2 separate regions of the Homo sapiens genome follow, and region 1 is linked to region 2. The links are contacts of gene promoters, found by promoter capture Hi-C in human tissues and cell types (Jung and others, 2019). All regions are on one chromosome and are shown on one strand. The core of a region is centred on a gene start or on the middle of the fragment in contact, and the rest is flanking DNA. Distances in the headings are between cores, read along the strand shown.

The links. The method cuts DNA at HindIII sites, captures the fragments that hold promoters and counts their contacts. A contact is called where the count stands out against the background at its distance.
Region 1: a fragment that was not itself captured here is called in contact with the fragment with the promoter of VASH2 in region 2 in 1 of the 25 tissues and cell types used here (small bowel).

What each region holds. Positions count from the first base shown.
Region 1 is chr1:212,753,946-212,758,813 of GRCh38, forward strand. All of the region lies in intron 4 of NSL1 (NSL1 component of MIS12 kinetochore complex), which reads right to left. Among named protein-coding and RNA genes, the nearest start is that of NSL1, 35 kb to the right of the region's middle. The HindIII fragment of the contact is 3,788 bases long and covers 1,373-4,868 here.
Region 2 is chr1:212,948,746-212,953,287 of GRCh38, forward strand. VASH2 (vasohibin 2) reads left to right here and starts at 1,796. Exons shown (of 8, transcript NM_001301056.2): 1 at 1,796-1,995; 2 at 2,594-3,073. The coding sequence starts at 2,798. RefSeq lists enhancers at 1,782-1,931, 2,452-2,501. The HindIII fragment of the contact is 12,745 bases long and covers 1-4,408 here.

The DNA.
Region 1 (4,868 bases), core at 2,017-4,516, 190 kb before region 2:
GTCAAACTTGGGCAAGGGGGCATGCATGTGTGACAGTGAGGCACTTTCAAAGAACTGAAAGACTGGCAGCAAACAGGAAAGTGCCTGAAATAAATCTGGAGAGGTAGGTAGGGGCCAGATCACCTAAGGGAATGCTAAAAGTCTAGAGTTTAGGATTTTAAGCAGAGGACTGAAAACTGATTTGCATTTTTAAAAGTATCCTAAGACTTCCTAGTCAAGTTGATTTCAGTAGTGCATAAAACTCCCTTCCTATGTCCAAAAGCATCAGTGAATATAGAAAATTAAAATGACATATCCTAAAGCATATACAAAATAAAACATTTCAATGAACCAGAAAAAAAGGAGAAGAGAAAAAGCTGCAAGTCAGGCTAAAGCTGCAGGCCTACCGGTAAGCAGAAGTAGCCAGGAATTGGCCTCCTGCAAGATAAAAGGTGTTCGAAGTGCTCCAGAAGAACAGGAAACGAAGAGACAGCTTCACTGTTTGAAACCGAGGGCTGAGACAGAGTTTACCCACCCTGAAAAGGTGGCTGAAAAAAACTGCCACTAACCAGCCCGGCGCGGTGGCTCACACCTGTAATCCCAGCACTTAAGGAGGCTGAGATGGGTGGATCACGTGAGGTCAGGAGTTGGAGACTAGCCTGGCCAACATGGTGAAACCCCGCCTCTACTAAAAATACAAAAATTATCCGGGCGTGGTGGTGGGCACCTGTAATCCCAGCTACTCAGGAGGATGAGGCAGGAGAATCACTTGAACCCAGGAGGCAGAGGTTGCAGTGAGCAACCATTACATTCCAGCCTGGGCAACAAGAGTAAAATTCTGTCTCAAAAAAAAAAAAAAAACCAACTCAAAAGACAAAACTGCTCCTAACCGCTGCCAGGAAGCAAAGCTTACTTAAAGCTAAACCAGAAATGATGGGAAGCAGATAATGCCTCCAAGCCTGGGCCTGGACCAATCTCCAGTGTCACACTGGGACAGAGGCCCTCTGTTGCCAGTGTTAAGATATGGCTCCAGCCTGGGATTGTTTGGGGCCAGATGGAAGGCAACCAAACCTACTAGACAGAGGGAGTGAAAGCAGTGGTAGACAGATATGCACATGAAAAATTCTAGTCAAGAAGCACTTGCAAATCAAAAGTCTAAAATACATGAAGAAATTAAAACCATGAAAGACAGCCAGTATAACCAATGTCAGGGAGAGGAATTTACTGCAGATGAAATGAAAATAGAGCAATATAAAAATGACTTTAAAATGCTACACAGCTCCAATAGCTAAAGAAAATCATAAGACATTGCAAAAGAAAAATAGGTTATAAAATAAAAACATAAAATACAAAAATAGAAGAAATGAGAAAGAAGCAAAGTTGAAGGATTAGGTTAAAGATTTTCTAGAATATAGGAGTCCTCAGATAAAAGTATATATGGAGATGTTAATGGAAGATGGGAGAAAAGAGGAATCTAGCAAAACCAAATAATCTCTCACAAAAAACAAAAATACATATATAATATTATTTAAATAAAATTGTCTCTGTGTATATAAGCAAGAAAAAAATTACCAATAAAAACCATGGAGTTGAACTATGTTACATGTTGAGTGAAAAAAGAAAAACAATGACAGAATAAAATGCATTATGTAATATTTATATAAACAACTAAAAAAACCCCTGTGTCTACCTATGTGCATACAAATGCATTGATAAAGATCTAAAATTAGACACAGCAAACTGATAATAGTTGCCTATTTGAAGATGTGTGGGATGTGACAGATTGGGAGGCGAAGTTATGGTATATTTCATATAAATATGAATATGTATATATTTTCATATATATCTATATGTAATTATTAAAAATTTTACATTAAGCTTGCATTTATTAAAAGCACAAGAAATACAATTTAAAAGATAACCACAATTTAAAACAATAAGGTTAGAGCTACGGCAGTCGAATGGAGGATGTCTACCATAAACTTAAGCTAGGAAATTGCAGATAATTTGAACACATGAATAAATTTTCTGTAAATTATGCCCCCAAAATGTCCAGTGCATATTTATTCCTGTAACAATTATATAAGCACAGAAAAAAGGATAAATGAATTCATACCAGGTTAATGTTGGATATCTAAAGGGGTGACAGGAAGAGAGAGAAGAAACCAAAAACAAAAAGTAAAAATACAATGCTATCCTTGTTGGGTTTTTTTGAGACAGGTTCTCACTCTGTCACTCAGGCTGGAGTGTAGTGGCAGGACCATAGCTCACTGCAGCCTTGACCTCCTGGGTTCAAATGATCCTCCCTCTGCAGCTTCCCGAGTAGCTGGAACTACAGGCATGCACCACCATGCTTGGCTAATTTTTGTATTTTTTGTAGAGACGGGGTTTTGCCATGTTGCCCTAGCTGGTCTCAAACTCCTGTGCTCAAGCGATCAGCTTCCCAAAGTGCTGGGCTTACAGGTGTGAGCCACTGCATCCGGCCGACTTTGGTTTTTAAAAGGGACAATGTAATATGTAATTCAATCCTATTTATATAAAATTATGTATTGTTTGCAAAAATATAAATATTTATTGAGTGTACCATGTCAGAAAATAATCTTAAGAGTCAGGGGCTGGGCGCAGTGGCTCATGCCTGTAATCCCAGAACTTTGGGAGGCCGAGGTGGGAGGATCACCCGAGTTCAAGACTTTGAAACCAGCCTGGCCAATATGGTGAAACCTTGTCTCTATTAAATATGCAAAAGTTAGCCAGGTGTGATGGCGGGTGCCTGTAATCCCAGCTAGTCTAGAGGCTGAGGCAGGAGAATCACTTGAACCTGGGAGGTGGAGGTTGCAGTGAGCTGAGAGCGTGCCACTGCATTCCAGCCTGGGCGACAGAGCAAGGCTCCGTCTCAAAAAAAAGAAAAGAAAAGAAAAAAGAGGGAAAACTGGGCATCCCAAAGTTCTTGCTCACAGGGAGCTTACAATACTGTGGGGAGGGAAGAGGAAAATAAGGAGAAATTATATAATATCTGTAAGTGGCAGAGAAAAATAAAGCAGGTTAAAGGGATACAGTATGATCAAGGGAGTCATAAGAGAATCTGACACAGGTTGTAAGGTGTATCAGATGAAGTGACACTTTGAACAGAGAGCTGAATGAAGTGCAAGAGTCAGGCAGGTAGTTTCGGAGAGCAGTTTCAAATACAGGGAGTTGCGAGTATGAAAGTCGTAGGGCCAGTGTGTTCTTGGTATGTCCTGAAATAGCAAGAATATTAGTGTTAGTGGAGCACAGTAAGCGAGGGTGAGATGGTAAGTGAACACTGTCAGAGATGAGATCAGAGAAGCAGCCGGGGACCATATCATTGAGGGCCTCTTAGACCAAAGGAATTATAATGGGGAGCCACTGGAGGGCCTTCAACAGGGAGTGACATAATCTGATTATGCTTTAAAAGAAATTGTTTGGATGCTGTGTGAAAAGTAGAACTGGATGGAAGGAGACCAGGGTGTTAGTCTGTTTTATTACTATAAAGGAATATGTAAGACTGGGTAATTTATAAAGAAAAGAGGTTTAATTGGCTCACAGTTCGGCAGGCTGTACAAGCATAGCACCAACATTTGCTCAGCTTCTGGTAGGGCCTCAGTGAGCTTTCAATCATGATGGAAGCCAAAGGAGGAACGGTACATCCATGGCAAGAGATGGAGCAAGGATGTGGATGTGGGGAGGTGCCACAGTCTTTAAAACAACCAGCTCTCAGGTGAATTCAGAGGGAGAGCTCACTCATTACCACAAGGAGGGCACCAAGCCACGGATGAGGGATCTGCCCCCAAGACCCAGACACCTTGCACTAGGTCCATCTACAACATTGAAGGTCCCATTTCAACCATGAGATTTAGAAGGAACAAAACATCCAAACCATATTAATCAGTGAGAAAGCTATTATAGTGGTCCTAAGCGAATATGGTGACATGGATAAGAGCAGGAGAGACAGATTTGGTTGGTAAGCAGCAGGATTTGAAATATGTTTCCAAGGTAAAGGCAGCAGGATCTACTGATGGACTGAGGATGTACAGGCATCATGCAATATATCATAATACTGGTTACTGGTCATAAACATGCTAATAGTGTTTATCTCTGGGCATATGATTTCATGTGATTTAAACTTGTTTCTTATGCTTCTAACATTTTTGGAATGTGCATGTATTGTTCATACAAGCAAGAAAAAGCAATAATATTATTTTCAGTGTGAAATAAATCAGAAAATGTACATATCAAACACCATACTAGAAAATAAACATCTAGCTATACTGTGGTAAACTTCAGAGCATTAAGAATATAGAGAAAATCCGAAAAGTCAGAAGAGAAAGAACAATATCTATAAAGGAATGGTAATCAGATTCTCAAGACACTGCTCATCAACAATGAATGTCAGGCATCCAGATTAGAAAGAAAAGAAGTAAAATATCTGTTTGCAGATGACATGATCTTTTATATATAAAATCCTTTAAAACATCCATTAAACAACTATTAGAACTAATAAATGAGTTTAACATGGTTGTAAGATACAAGATTAATATACAAAAATTAATTCTATCTCTACACAGTAGCAAAGAAGAAACCAAAAATAAAATTTAAAAATAATTCAATTTACAAGGGCATCAAAAGAATAAAGTATTTAGGAATAAGTTTCACAAAAGAAGTGCTAAAAGCTGGAAAACACTGTTGAAATAAATCAATTTCCAGATGGAAAGCCATCCATTATTCAGGGATCAGAAAACTTAACATTAAGATAGCATTACTCTCAAAGTGATCTACAATTTCAACACAATTCCTACCAAAATCCCAGCTGACTTCTTGACAGAAATTGACTGACTGATCCCAAAATTCATATGGAATTTGAATGTAAGGGA
Region 2 (4,542 bases), core at 546-3,045:
CTGATCTGTTTGGGTTCCTTGTAGATTCTGGATACTGGTCCTTTGTCAGATGCACAGTTTGTGAATATTTGCTCGCACTCTGTGGATTGTCGGTTTACTCCGCTGATTATTTCTTTTGCTGTGCAGACCCTTTTTAGTTTAATTAGGTCTCATTTATTTATTTTCATTTTTGTTACATTTGCTTTTGAGGTCTTAGTCATGATTTCTTTGCCTGAGCTAATGTCTAGAAGTGTTTTTCTCATGTTATCTTCTAGAATTTTTATGGTTTCAGGTCTTAGACTTAAGTCTTTGATCCATCTGGAGTTGATTTTTGTGTAAGGTGAGAGACGAGGATCCAGTTTCATTCTACATGTCCACTTCAGCCTTTTGAGTAGCTGGGACTACAGGTGTGTGCCACCACATCTGGCTAATTTCAAAATATTTATTTAGTAGAGACAAGGTCTCGCTATGTTGGTCCAGTCTCTAATTCCTGGCCTCAAGTAATCCTTCCTCCTCTTTCTCCCAAAGTGCTGGGTTTAAAGGTGTGAGGCACCACGTCTGCCCTATTCTCATTATTGAATCTATAAAGTTCTTGGCATGGGCTCTGTCTCAGGGAGCAGTGCAGGGCTAAGTCCAGAATCCAGGTCTCCTCACCCAAGCCCTGGCTCTCAACTACCCCTCAGGGGTCTCTGCCCTCCTGTGGAAGAGAAGTTCCAGTTCCATGACAGGCAACTTGTCAGGATAAGCATCCAGAAACTGACCCGCCATCAGTGGCACTTTGACAACTGTCTTCTTAATTCAAGGTTCACTTAGCATAGGTCTCATAACTGCTTTGCTCAGAGCTGGCCTGCTGGCCTGCAGTTTAAAGAGAAAGGATGCTATGGCCAGGATCCTCAGTGTCACAAGAGAGGAAGTCAGGGAATCACAGAACCTTACAGCCAGAACAGACCCTGGAGAGCGGGAGGTCTGCTCTCCTTTCAGAAAGAGAAGCTAAGGCCCAGAGCAGGGAAGTGGCTTGTCCAGGGTCACACAGCTGAGCAAAGTGACAAACCTGGACCAGGAGCCAGCCTTCAGGTCAGCAGTCTGGTGCTCTTCCCACCTCAACCTGCTCTCCTCTTTCTTAAAGAAAAAGAAAGAGAAGGTGTTTCAGTAGTGAGTGTGGGATAGCCACCCACTTCACCATGGTTTGGAAGCATCTCTCCATCCCTCCTCTCACTCAACAGCTGTGGCAGAACAGTCAGGGCCTGCCTGACCTCTTGAGTTTTATTGTCTCCTCTCAACTTGGGCTTAAAGGGACTTTATTAACCATGACTAATACCAGAGGATCCAAAGCTGCACCCACTTGTTAATTTTGAGGAATTTTTAAATGCGGGATTTAAAAAAGATTTAATTTCACGCATAGGTATGAACAGCCCCTCATCATCCCAGGTAGAGGATGAACAACTCATCATCCCGGGTAGAGGCAGGTAAGTGTGTCCAGCGTCCCTCAGGGAATGCTCTTCTGATGCCAAACCCTCTGCTTCCGCGGGGTCACTTCTCGGGTGGTTTTGTTTCTCCTCTGCTTCCACAGTTGCAAACCCTCGAAGTGCCACGACCCCTGGGGAAACTCGATCTTAAGTCCCATGGCCAAACGCTCCAGCCCGCGGGGCTCTCAGGACACCACAGCGATCGGATTTCGCGTGGCCGCCAGGCTCCCCCTACTCCTGTCCCCTCCCGCCAGAGAACCCCTGGAGCCAATCAGAGCGTCGCGGAGCCCGGGGTTGTAGAGTCCCGAGCCCGGGACCCGCCCCTCTTTGTTGCGGTGGCCAATAGACGCATTCGGAACATCGGCGGCTGCCCGGGTGACTTGGTTATATGTCACAGAATAACATTCGAGAATGGGACATGGAATGAGGCGACGGCCCCAGCAAGCCCCAGCAGCCCCAGCCCCAGCCCCAGGCCCAGCAGCAGCAGCAGCAGCCCCTGCTCTCCCGCCGCCCGGAGAGGCTCTGCAGCCATGAAGCCAACCGTCCCGAGGTAGGATCTTGGAGCTGCCGCGCGCCCTTCCTGCGCGCCGCCCGCCTGCAGCCAGTCCCTCCCGGTGATAGGCGCTGGAACTCGGGGAAAAGGGGGCGGATGGAGCTCTTTCCACTAGATCCCCGCCGGGGTCCGGGAGGGCTTCCTGGAAGAAAGCGGGCCGCCTTGCAAGCCAAGGCTGCTGCAGCGCCCTCGCGCCAGCTCTGGGCGCTCACATGCCAGCACGTTCGTGGCTCCCCTCCTCTCTTGGCCACATCTGAGGACCCAGGAATGTGTGGAGCCTTGCGGGAACCTCCTGTTCCTTCATGCTACACAAGCTGTCTTTCTTCTCCCCACATCTTGCGCTCCGCATCCCCCAAGCTCCTTGTGCCCCTCCATCCCCAACCCCCCGGGTTTAGGTGTGTGTGAAGCTTCGTGGCACATTTTGAGCTGCCTTTCTAGGTAATCGCAGGGCTGGAAGCCCGTCATCGATTCTCAGGGAGGCTGTCAGCGTGCAGGGGGGAGCGGGGAGTGTCGTGGAGACACTCCGGGACCCCTCACTCGGTTCCGCTGTGCGTCCACTTAGCTGTGGTGTCAGCTGTGTCTCCGCTGATTTCAGGCACCGCCGGTAAGCAGGGAGCCTCCGCGGAGCTCCCGCCGCCGCTCCCCCTTGGTGAGTCCTGCCGCAGCGAGAGGCATGGAGAAGGCCGCCCCCGCGGGGCGCTGATCCCCTCGCCGCGCCCGCGCGCACACGCCCCCCGCCGCCGCCGCCGCTGCCGCCGCCGCGCGCCCCCAGTACCTCGCTCCCCGCCCAGGCCCCACCATGACCGGCTCCGCGGCCGACACTCACCGCTGCCCCCACCCCAAAGGCGCCAAAGGCACCCGGTCCCGGAGCAGCCACGCGCGGCCCGTGAGCCTCGCCACCAGCGGGGGCTCAGAGGAGGAGGACAAAGACGGCGGGGTGCTGTTCCACGTCAACAAGAGCGGCTTCCCCATCGACAGCCACACCTGGGAGCGCATGTGGATGCACGTGGCCAAGGTGCACCCTAAGGGGGGAGAAATGGTGGGCGCCATCAGGAACGCCGCCTTCTTGGCAAAGGTCAGTGGCTTCCAGGGCGGAGTTGGGGGGCTGGGGGTAGGTAGGCAGCGATGGGACCGTTTCAGCCTATACATAGCAAACACAGGCAATCTCCATTTTCCTAGTCCTGCTACAAACTCCCTTCCTCTCCCCATTCCTTCCTGCCAGCCCTTTTCTAATTGAGATATTTAGATTGGAAGCCTAAGAAATGGGGAAGGGAGAGGTAGCGGGCTTGCTATCCTGGGACTGTGTAATTGGATTGTGCCAAGGTGTCTTTGAAGCTCCAGCCAAACTCTATTATTTACTCACCCCCACATACATCCTCCTTCAGCAAAAGCTAGAGCCACCAGGTACCAGCGATGCCAAAGAATGCACAGACCCCAGGGATCCCACCCTGCTTGTTCTCTTTGGAGTGTCTTGCTCCTCCTCTGCTCCCCTCTTCCCCCAGCAAATGATTTATTAAGCTGTGAATGAATTTGAAATCAACCAGTCAGACTTCTCAGTGTGAATAATTTCCAGACTTTTTGCCAGTTTTTTTTCTTTTCTTTCTGGTTTTTTTGTGTGTGTGTGTGTGACAGTGACTTTCACCTCTGAAACTTGCAAAACGGTGAACTCTCTCTCTCTCTTCCCAGCTTATTTGTGCTCCAAGAAAAAAGAAAGACTTTTGGCTGAGACTTAAAAGGGACTTTCCAGTACACATGATGAATTAGTCTCACTGGATAGAAAAAGAGGATGAGGAGTGAAACTCTCTTTTTGCCTTGGAGAGAAGCCAGTGAGCCATTTGGGTTTGGTGGCTAAGGATATCTTTACCGAGGGAGGGAGATGTACCCTGGTGGGAGTAGATACGTTATATGAAACATCAAAATGCAAACTGGGGAGAAATGCTGCCGAGCCTCGGGGTTATAGCGTGGCGGATGGTTTCCCCTGGACCCTGGGGACGCTGGTACGGCTGAGAAGATTCCTGGGCAGGTCTAGGAATGCCAGACTTGAGACCCGGAAGGCCATCTGGTTGATTCCCCAGCCTGGTGACAGCTGAGCATCTGAGCCTGCAGGCCAGAAAGCTGTGTGTGTCCTTGGAGAAGTGACAGAGCCTCTAAACTTCCTGCTGCAGTCAGTTACAGTGTTCTATTACTCTGCTGGTCAAGGAGATCTTCATTGTGCCCAACTAGAATCTTGCCTGCTTTAGTGTCAACCATAATTACCCTTGCTGAGTTCTTGAATATGAGAACAACCTTTGTTCCTGGTTTGCAGTTCTGACTTGAGAATTTTTCCTCCAGTGAGGAGCCGAGAGCCCTTAAACTTGGAAGAAAAGTGACCACAAGGAAAAAAACGCCTGTTCCTACTGTCCCATGCTGCCTTTCTTAGTAGCACCCGTACCAACCCTGCCTCTAATTGTGCTTTTATCCTTCCTCCAACCATGTATGCGGGTGCGCGGGGGGGGGTGCATTCTCTATGTGGGAATCATGGAATTTTGCTGTTTGTAGAGACCA